Linked DNA regions of Homo sapiens: regions 2 and 3 are each linked to region 1. Evidence: promoter capture Hi-C in 16 types of primary human blood cells and fetal thymus (Javierre and others, 2016). All regions are on one chromosome and are shown on one strand. Each heading gives the region's core, a stretch centred on a gene start or on the middle of the fragment in contact. The rest is flanking DNA. Distances are from core to core; before and after follow the strand shown. Region 1 holds the start of PCCB (propionyl-CoA carboxylase subunit beta). Region 2 overlaps ARMC8 (armadillo repeat containing 8). Region 3 overlaps ANAPC13 (anaphase promoting complex subunit 13).

Region 1 (3,113 bases), core at 259-2,758:
AGCCTCCTAAGTTAACTTTGGCAAAAGAAAAACAGCTTCTGGAGGCTTCATCTAAACCTAGTAGGATCTACCTGGGAAAGGGCTAGGCGATGTTCCAGGGAAGAATTGAGCAATAGGCCCCAACAGAAAGAGTGTACAGGAGCACTGACAGGCCTTTCCAGAGGATGATCTAACATCTCCCTCAGCCCTAACAGAGTAGGTTAGAAGTAGCCCCAGGGGAGAGAAAGCACTCCTAGCACCACAAACCATCACTAAATTTACATTTCACTCTCAAGTGTCAAAAGGAACTGTTACCTTTGGACCCTTGTCAAATGCGAATTTATGACATCTGAATCAATATTAGACAAATATAGAGCTGTTCAAATCTCCTCACTTTAAGACCCCATCCCTCCCCCAGTGCCTCCCTCATGGTTGTGAGTTGTGCCTGAATACTCTTCATCTGTAAGAGTTTCACTTCTGCACCTTCCCGTTGGTTAATTCGTTCAGCACAACGGTCCAGACTCACCCACCAGTCACGGACACACTGGGCAAGCCTGGTTTCAAGTCAGGGATCACCTCTCCAAAATGGGCCGCCCAGCTTATCTCTGAAGGCCAGCTGGATTCTCGCCTCAAAACCCAGGCGGTGGGTGGCAGTGTTTCAACTGCTCAGTCCAGCCAAACATCGAGAGTAGCCTGCGCACTCCCAGAAAGGCCACCTGCTTCCGACACGTGCCTTTGCTACCCATCAAGGCGAGGCATGCTAAGGCCCTAAAGAGCTCGACCAGGCATTCTGCGGGCAGAAGTTCCACAAGTTCCTGCACGCGCACATCCCCCATTTCATGTTAGTGGAGTATGCCCAAGTTCAGTTTTCCTGCTTCCACAAAGGAGAAAGAACCTACCATCACTCTTTCATGGGGCACGAGAATAAGCACATGGTTTTTACTGAGCGCCTATCATTTTGCTATCTATGGTCTAACGATACACTTGTGAAGGAAGAATTATTATTAAAATGACCCACAGAGATTTAATAAGTTGCCCAAAAGCTTATGTTAAGTGTTGAGCTGGCTAGAGACGAGCCAGATCCGTCTAAATCCCAAGGGTTAAACAGTATGAAAAAGCACACAGGTGCTTCTGCTGGTTATACCCGCCTCCACGAGAAACGCTACAGGTTTTCAAGGTGAACACCCTTGCTCCGGCCCCTCCAGGCACCGTGCGGATTGGCAGGGAGGCCTCGGACGCCGCAAGCCGGGCACGCAGTGATAGGTCGCGGACGCCAGGGGCGGGACTCACTTAGGCCCCTCAGGACTCACTCGCTTGTGCTGCGCGTCAATACGGCGTTGGCCCCCTCCCAGCAGCGCGGTCCGGCGCTTGTTTTCGATGCGTTCGTTAACAGAGGTGGCCTGGCTGCAAAGGCTGCGGACCGCGGCGCGGAGACCGCTCGCCAGAACGCTGAGCCTTGCCCCGACCGCCGCCACCCGTAATGCCGCCGCCATTTTTGCTGTGCCGGCGCGTCCCCTACCGGCGCACCTGAGTACGCATGTGCTAAAGCGTGGGTACGGCGCTTGCGCAGCATCGGCTGGCTGTAGGGAGCCGCGGGGGCTGGACTACAGAACCTGCTTGGGAGTAAGGCGTGAGAGTTCGAGACCCGGTGCTGCCCGAGGAGGGTCGCGCAGAGAAAAAGTACAGGGCCTGCCTGGCTGCACAAAAAAGGGACATAGTCCTTGCTCTTCTCTGACCACCTAGACCCTTAACTTTGTCGTCCCACTTCCTACAGAAAATGATTATAAGATTTAACCAACATTTATTAAGCATTGTGCCAGGTGTTGCTTTTTGCACTTACCATGCACTAGCTTACTATCTGGATTTCACAGATGAGGTAAATCAAGCACAGAGAGATGAGTGATTTGATCAAGAGGCAAGACTGAGGCCGAGGTAGGTGAGCCCAGGAGCCCAAGACCAGCCTGAGCAATATAGTAAGACCCCACCTCTACAAAAAAATTAAAAATTAGCTGGGCATGGCGGCTTGCACCTGTGACCCCAGCTACTCGGGAGGCTAAGGCGGCAGGATGGCTTGGCCCAGGAAGTCGAGGCTGCAGTGAGCCGTGATTGCATCACTGCACTCCAGCCTGGGCAAAACCCTGTCTCAAAAAAAAAAAAAAAAAAAAGCCAAGACTGACAATGTGGTTGGCCAGGATTCAAACTCAGAGACCTATCATTAATATGTGCCAGATAATGAGCACAGGACCCTTAACCTCTAATCAGTAGTTCTCAAAGTATGGATCCCATTAAAGAAAAAACTATTCATGACACTTAATTATTCATGTTTAAGAATGGTAAGGCAAACTTTATTCAGGCCCAATCTGACAGAGGTAGGGATAGAGTTTTGCCATAAGTCAGAGCGATTGGGCTGAATATAGCAAAGTGGTAATTTATAGCTAAGGGGCAGTGTGTGGAAGTCAGTGGATGGAAAATTACTAAGAGGAAACATTGGCGGGGAATCTGGCTAAATTGACCTAACAGGATTCCTGCCCAAGGCAGGTCAGGGTAACTGAACATCACCTGGGGGATGGTGGCGGTATGGGTCAAAACCAGATATGGAGAGTAATCAGATATCAAGAATGGAGGATTCTGGCTAAACTGACTTGGCAAGTTTCTTGCTAAAATGGAATTCCACAAGGAATGACATGGGAGCCCACACTCAGGCCTAGTCAAAGAGAGAGCTCAGAAGAGCCTGACCAATGTTTGATCAAGGAGGGAATCTTGTCAATCCAGCAACTTCAGTATCACCTGGGAGTGAGTTGGAAATGCAAGCTCGAATTCTCAGAACTTACTCCAGACCTTTAAATCAGAAACTCTGGGGCTGGGGCCAGCCATCTGTTTTAGCAGATGACCTTTAGGTGATTCTGATCTGCTTGCTAAAGTTTAAGAACCACTGCTCTAGGAATTTGGAATTGTACTGTTGAGAGCTTGACCATCTGTTTCTCCCACTAACAGGCAGGTCTTCAAGACAAAGAACATGGTTTATATTTCTCATTTTTAGCCACAGAAAACTGCTAAAGTTGATCATGAGCCCTTCCCAGATCCAGCTCATAGCCAGGGCCTTCATAAAGTACAAATTCTGACCTATGACCTTA
Region 2 (3,113 bases), core at 389-2,888, 2.0 Mb before region 1:
CTGGAGTAGGGTGGTGTGATCTCAGATCACTGCAACGTCTCCTCCTGGGTTCAAGTGATTTTCATGGCTCAGCCTCCCGAGTAGCTGGTGTTGCAGGTATGTGCCACCGTGCCCGGTTAATTTCTGTAGTTTTAATAGAAATGGGAGTTTCACCGTGTTGGCCAGGCTGGTCTCGAACTCCTGGCCTCAGGTGATATATCCATCTTGAACTCCCAAACTGCTAGGATTACAGGCGTGAGCCACTGTACCCAGCGGAGACTTTTATCATTTTTTATTTTTAGTGAGAGGATCTCATTCTGTCACCTAGGCTGAGGTGCAGGGGCACCATCATAGCTTAGTATAACCTCAAACTCCTAGGCTCAAGCAATCCTTCCACTGCAGTCTCATGAGCTAGGACTATAGGCATGAGCCATTGCACCAGGCTAATTTATTTTTATTTTTTTCTTGTAGAGATGGAGTCTTGTTGTCGGGCGCAGTGGCTCACACCTGTAATCCCAGCACTTTGGGAGGCCGAGGCGGGTGGATCACAAGGTCAGGAGTTCAAGACCAGCCTGGCCAAGATGGTGAAACCCTATCTCTCCTAAAAATACAAAAAATTAGCCGGGTGTGGTGGCACGCGCCTGTAATCCAAGCTACTCCAGACGCTGAGGCAGAGAAATGCTTAAACCTGGCAGGGTGAAGGTTGCAGTGAGCCGAGATCGCGCCACTGCACTCTAGCCTGGGTGACAGAGCAAGACTCCACCTCAAAAAAAAAAAAAAAAAAAGAGATGGAGTCTTGTTATGTCACTCTGGTTGATCTTGAACTCCTGGCCTCAAGCAATCCTCCCACCTCAGCCTCCCAAAGCACTGGGATTACTGGTGTGAGCCACCATGACCAACTGAGACTTTTTTACATAACACAGTTATGATGAGTCTGAAGATGCTAAGCAAATTAGGAGTAGGCTGTTGGTGAAATGTAACTAATGTCTCAAATACATCTAAAACTCACTGTATACAGTAGCTCCTCTGGAGTGACAGGACTGGTGAAGATGGTACGCAGGCATCGGAGGCAAGCTTCAATAAACTTCAGGTCTGGGGACAGTAGTCCTATTAACAGAAATGAGATTTAGGACTAATCCTTTCAACCAGTATTTAAAGCACTGCAAACTGATTCTTAACCTTAATTGAGCAAAAATGGCTTCCCTACATACCTTGCAATAAGGCAGGGATAATATGGCAGTCCAGTAGAGACTTGACATTGTTTTCAGTACCCATAGCAAGACTTCCCAACACCACTGCACATTCAGTTTTCAGCTCTGTGCTTGAGGTTTCTTGCTGAAGCAAGTACAACAATCTAAAAAGAAGGAACTTAATAAACGAAGAGACTAAAAAATTTAAACAAGACTCAATGTGACCAAAAAAGGCTGTGCAGTCCACATACTAAAAATATGGTTGGCTGAGTTTATATGAATCCAATGGTCATTTGTTTATCTCATCTGCTAATTAAAGAAACATCTGGAAAAAAAATCTAGAAGAGGTTTTGAAAAAAAGAACTATCATATTCTTAGAGTTTATAAAAAGTGTAAATCTGAAAGTTGTCCACAGATAGTCTCTGTAGAAACAGCGTCATCAGAGTCCATGTCATCTACCACTTCCTGCTGGGTCTCCAAAATATGAAGACTCTCAAATGCCATGTGCTGCCAGATCTTAAACTCAAACTAGAAATGCTACTGCTCTGAATCCAGAGCAGTGGTGCAGTTTGTAGATATCGAGCCTATAGGGAATATTCAGAGCCCTTGTGCAGCTCCTCAAGCAAAGGTAGTTTCTTCTTTCTCCAGCTCTCTCATTTGGAAAAGGAAGAGATCCTCTCATTTCCACTCCAGCCCAGCTTGCCAAACAAATACTCCCCAAACCCTAACCTTCCTCCACTTATAACCATCTACCTTATGTTCTAAGACAGGACCCTCATGCTCCATAAAGCACTATTTATATATACCAAACATAAATCCCCTAAGAAAGGCTGCTGACAGCTTTATAGTTACTAAAGTATATGTTTGAGGTTGGTGAGTTAAAACACTTAAACCATTAATTCTGTATCAAAACCAGAAAATAAGGAGAAAAAAACAAAATAATAAATAATTCTGAATGAAAAGCTAATAGCAATTGCACAGAAAACTTAGCTCTGAGGAGCAAAAGTAAAGAGGAAGTTATGTAACTGTCATTGCCTGCCTAAAGGAAGCTTATTAGGTCATCAAAAGAAGAAATTAAACTTCCTAAACTTCTTACGTTAACTTAAAAAACAGCAAGTTGTAAAAATCAGAAGTTAAAAAATGAAACTGGATTAAAAATCAAGCAGGGTTTTTTTCCTTTAAATTCAAAAAGGTCTTAAGGCTCCTAATAAATTACCCACTCACACAAAAAACTGCCAAGGCTCTAAGGAAATGGAGAAGAAAGTATCAGGCTGTTGTACATTGCATATGTACTTTACGAACCCTTTTGTCATCAGGTCAAAGGTCTTCCTGAGTTTCCAAAATGTATTAACACATTCACTTCTTACTACATTCTCTGTTACTTTATAATTTTTTTCCTTAAAGATAGTTTAAATACTTACATTTATTTTTAAAAATAGGATTTATTTTAAGAATTAGACAGACAATACAGGAAAAATGGGTTCTATAATTGAGAGTAAGAAATACATTAGAAACTAGTATGAATGGCAAGAAAGGGGTGAGACAGCAAACATACCTTGGAACAGCTCCTAAAACAATGAGATTGGCTTTCTGCTTGTTGTTTCCAATTACAGCATTTTTCATGTCTCTGAATTAAGGGGAAGAAAAAATAAAGTATGTTGAGACAGCACTGAAGAAAAATCAAAGATCATTCTACTTCATTATGCAATATCTTAGATTTGACAAAGTAAAAGCACTAACCTTTTTTCACCTAAAGTACTAATGAAGGGATAGAGATAGGTGCAGAGTGAATGTGGGGGCTGTAAAACGGCGTATTGTAGAAAGTGAGAGATATCCTGAGTACTGGCGAAAGACTTCCAGTACAGAATTGAGTTCTTCTAGAAAGGGTACCTACCAATACTTTGGATACAAAGGAATACAGGCCACCCTCACGCTCAGCTCTAA
Region 3 (3,113 bases), core at 292-2,791, 1.8 Mb after region 1:
TGGGTTCCACCCCGCTCCACCACCCCAAAATTGCTTATTGTGTGAGTCTCCATAGTCTCAGAAACTGAGAGTACCTTTGATGCCAGTGGCTTCCGGGCTTTTTGGATTGTCACTTGGTAGCAGGGAGCACCCATAGGATGATGCCTATGATGAGTCAGGGCCCAACCTTGGAAACAGGGAAATCCAGAAGTATCCTACAAGCTAGCCAGCCTTTTGGATTAGATTATAGCAGTTTCAGAGAAAAATGGGGAATCAGCCATGGTCAAGGAGCTAAATAAGCATCGTGACCATTTGGGCCAGAAATTGAAGGGAGTGTAGCGTTAAGAATTAGAGGAAGGAACCTCCGAGGAAGGAGCTACCCCAAAGGGAAGCAGAAACTGGAGAAACTTTAGCAGTATGAGGTTCTACCACTGGTGTTCACCTAGAAGTGCTTTATTCAGATCTCAGCCTGGGTACTATTTTAGGGAAGGAAGCCGTTTCCTTTACAGTATGTTCGTGTGACTCCTGTGCCTAAGAATGCTGAGGTTTGAGCCAGGGGCTAGAAAGGAAACTTAGCTGGCCATTATGAATCAGGGACTCATCAAAGGCATCACAAACAGGAAAAGGTGAATGTTCAAGTTAGAAGAGAAGAGCTACATTGAGATGCAACATATTAATATTTGAGGGCCTCGTTTAACGTGTTGCTCTCCTGTCACACTCTATGACACTGGTCTGTCAGCTGGGCTATGCCTGTCCAGTATACACTATAAAATATGTATCAGTTGGGGTTGGAGAGAGGAACTGTGATCAAAGTAGTCACCCGGCCCATATGAGAAAATGAACCTTTTCCCAAAAGGTGGCCCCAGACTAAAAAGCCTGGAGAATCCTAATAGTGGATTATACCATCTCTTCAGTCTTCGTGTTTAAGAAATAACCTCTTTGGCTTACAGATTTGACAAGATCAAAGCTGCAGGAAAATGGACAGTGAGGTTCAGAGAGATGGAAGGATCTTGGATTTGATTGATGATGCTTGGCGAGAAGACAAGCTGCCTTATGAGGATGTCGCAATACCACTGGTAGGTTATGATTTGAGCTGAGGATGGGTTAAAGGTATTGATCTGGCAGTAACTAGTGGAGGAGGGATATCAATGGAAGATAAACTAGTGTGGCAAAGAAATCAAAGCTGTGGAATTCTCTAACTCTAGAAGCTTCTGGAGAGCATCCAGTTGTATGTTTTATTTGAAGAAAAATGTGGTTCAGGGAGCTAACATGGCCAGGTCAGTTAGGAGTCATGCCAGGACTAGAGCCCCGATTTTCTGAGCCATGTTCTGTCCACCACACGAAAACCAGAGAAACCAAATAATGAGAGTTTAATGCGCAAGATGGGGAAGAACAAGAAGCAGCAGCATATGAGCTCTGTTTCTTACTTCCCTGCCTGTGGCTCATCAGTCTTTCAGCATTTTTAGAAACTTACATTCTTGGAGCATACACCTATCTTAGGTTCCCTGGAAAATATTCAGAAGATACCTGGGTATTCTTTTGCGTTTAGGCCAGTGGCCTTCTGGAATACTCTTTTCTTCCCCATCTTTGGAAAACTCTGCTGCAGGGAGTTTGTTAAACCTCATGTAATAAGTGATCCAAAAGTTTTGCTTATATAAATGTTTGTTTAAAATCCTATTTATGTCATAGAGGCCTAAAAAAGGGAAAACAGGACTGTTTTTCTTTAAAGCATGCCAGCTGCCCTGAGAAGAGTAGTTAGTATTGAATAAAATATAATTTATAGTTAGAATATCTGCTGTTGCTGTTTGCAAAGAAATAAAATAGTTCATCTGTATTTTCATTTACGAATAAGAGATAGTAATATGTTCAATGAATAATATACATATCAAATAAGTCATAGCTTAGTTCAAGCTTAGGAAAATAGTCAAAAGAGAGAGCATAATAAGAATTATAGATGTCATTTATTGAATACCAGTTTTATGCCATGGACTGAGGTTGGAAATATACATTATCTCTAATTCTTAAACAACCCTGTGAGGGAGGTGCTGTTATTCCCATTTTATAGGAAAAGAATAGGATCAGAAAGGGCAACTTGCCCAAAGTCTGGTAGCAGGTAAGTAGGGCTTCATATAACATATACCTAGGTCTGTGAAGTTCCAAATCCTGTCTTGTGAACTTCTGTTCATTCATTCATTTGACAAGCATTTTTTGAAGCCTACTGTGTGCCATAAGACTATGTGAACATAAGATACAGTTCCTCCTCCTGAGGGGTCTAGAAAGGCAACACTTATAGATAAGTAATTGTGATAATAAATATTCTAGGTGGGGGCATAAACAGCCACATCATATACGAAGTGGCTGATTGCCTGGTGGGCATCAGAAAGGCTTCTGAGAGAATGTCATGTTTAAGCTGGGTCATAAGGAAGGACCAGAAGTTTAGTGGAGGTAGACAAGGGTATTGCAGCAGAGGGGACAGATGTGTAAAGGCCCAGAGTTTTGAAAGGCTTTGGGACATGGTGAGTCATTCACTGTGGATGAAGAATACATTTGTCACATAAGTAGGCTGAAAAGTTGGGCTTGGATCAGATTGAGAGTGGTATTTGATATCACACTTAGACCTCATCCTCAGGAGATCCAGGAATGAATGGTCTTAAAAGCAAGACTGCTATGCTCAGATTTGGCTTTTGGAAAATCAGTTTAGCCAGCATTGTTAGAGATGGTGTGACATGGAGATAGGGGCAAGTGAGACCAATTGGCAAGCTGTTGTGGTCTAGGCAAGGGAGGAGGGCCTAAACAAAGTCAAGAAAATAAAGGAGACGTCCATTTCTGGAGAAGTTTATGGCTCAGATTGGAGAACATTTGGGTGGCAGGGGTGGAAGGAGGTTTCCCTGCTGACTTCCAGGCGAAGTTGGCTTGGCCCTGCTGCTAATCCACACCTTTCGCTTGTCTTGCGATTCTAAGGCAATGTGTATGCCAGTTAGGTTTTGCTGCATAACAAGTCACCCCAAAGCTTAGTGACTTAAAAGAGCAACTGTTTATTTCATGATTTTGTAGCTCAGCTGGGAGGGACTTCTAGTCTGCACCAGCTCAGCTGATCCCTGCCAGGCTTGCCTGTGTTGTGCAGTCAGCCAACA

The links. The method cuts DNA at HindIII sites, captures the fragments that hold promoters and counts their contacts. A CHiCAGO score of 5 or more calls a contact.
Region 2: a contact is called between a fragment that was not itself captured here and the fragment with the promoter of PCCB in region 1, in 1 of 17 cell types (activated CD4 T cells). The highest score is 5.3, in activated CD4 T cells.
Region 3: a fragment that was not itself captured here is called in contact with the fragment with the promoter of PCCB in region 1 in 2 of 17 cell types (total B cells and non-activated CD4 T cells); the score reaches 5.8 in total B cells.

The regions. Positions count from the first base shown.
Region 1 is chr3:136,248,735-136,251,847 of GRCh38, reverse strand. It overlaps PCCB (propionyl-CoA carboxylase subunit beta), which reads right to left and starts at 1,508. Exons shown (of 15, transcript NM_000532.5): 1 at 1,290-1,508. The coding sequence starts at 1,472. RefSeq lists enhancers at 1,034-1,083, 1,714-1,773, 1,003-1,869. The HindIII fragment of the contact is 10,493 bases long and covers 1,025-3,113 here.
Region 2 is chr3:138,221,609-138,224,721 of GRCh38, reverse strand. ARMC8 (armadillo repeat containing 8) reads right to left here. Exons shown (of 22, transcript NM_001363941.2): 3 at 2,725-2,796; 4 at 1,191-1,333; 5 at 989-1,086. Among named protein-coding and RNA genes, the nearest start is that of ARMC8, 36 kb to the right of the region's middle. The HindIII fragment of the contact is 1,165 bases long and covers 1,056-2,220 here.
Region 3 is chr3:134,480,748-134,483,860 of GRCh38, reverse strand. ANAPC13 (anaphase promoting complex subunit 13) reads left to right here. Exons shown (of 3, transcript NM_015391.4): 2 at 930-1,055. The coding sequence starts at 957. Among named protein-coding and RNA genes, the nearest start is that of ANAPC13, 3.7 kb to the left of the region's middle. The HindIII fragment of the contact is 703 bases long and covers 1,190-1,892 here.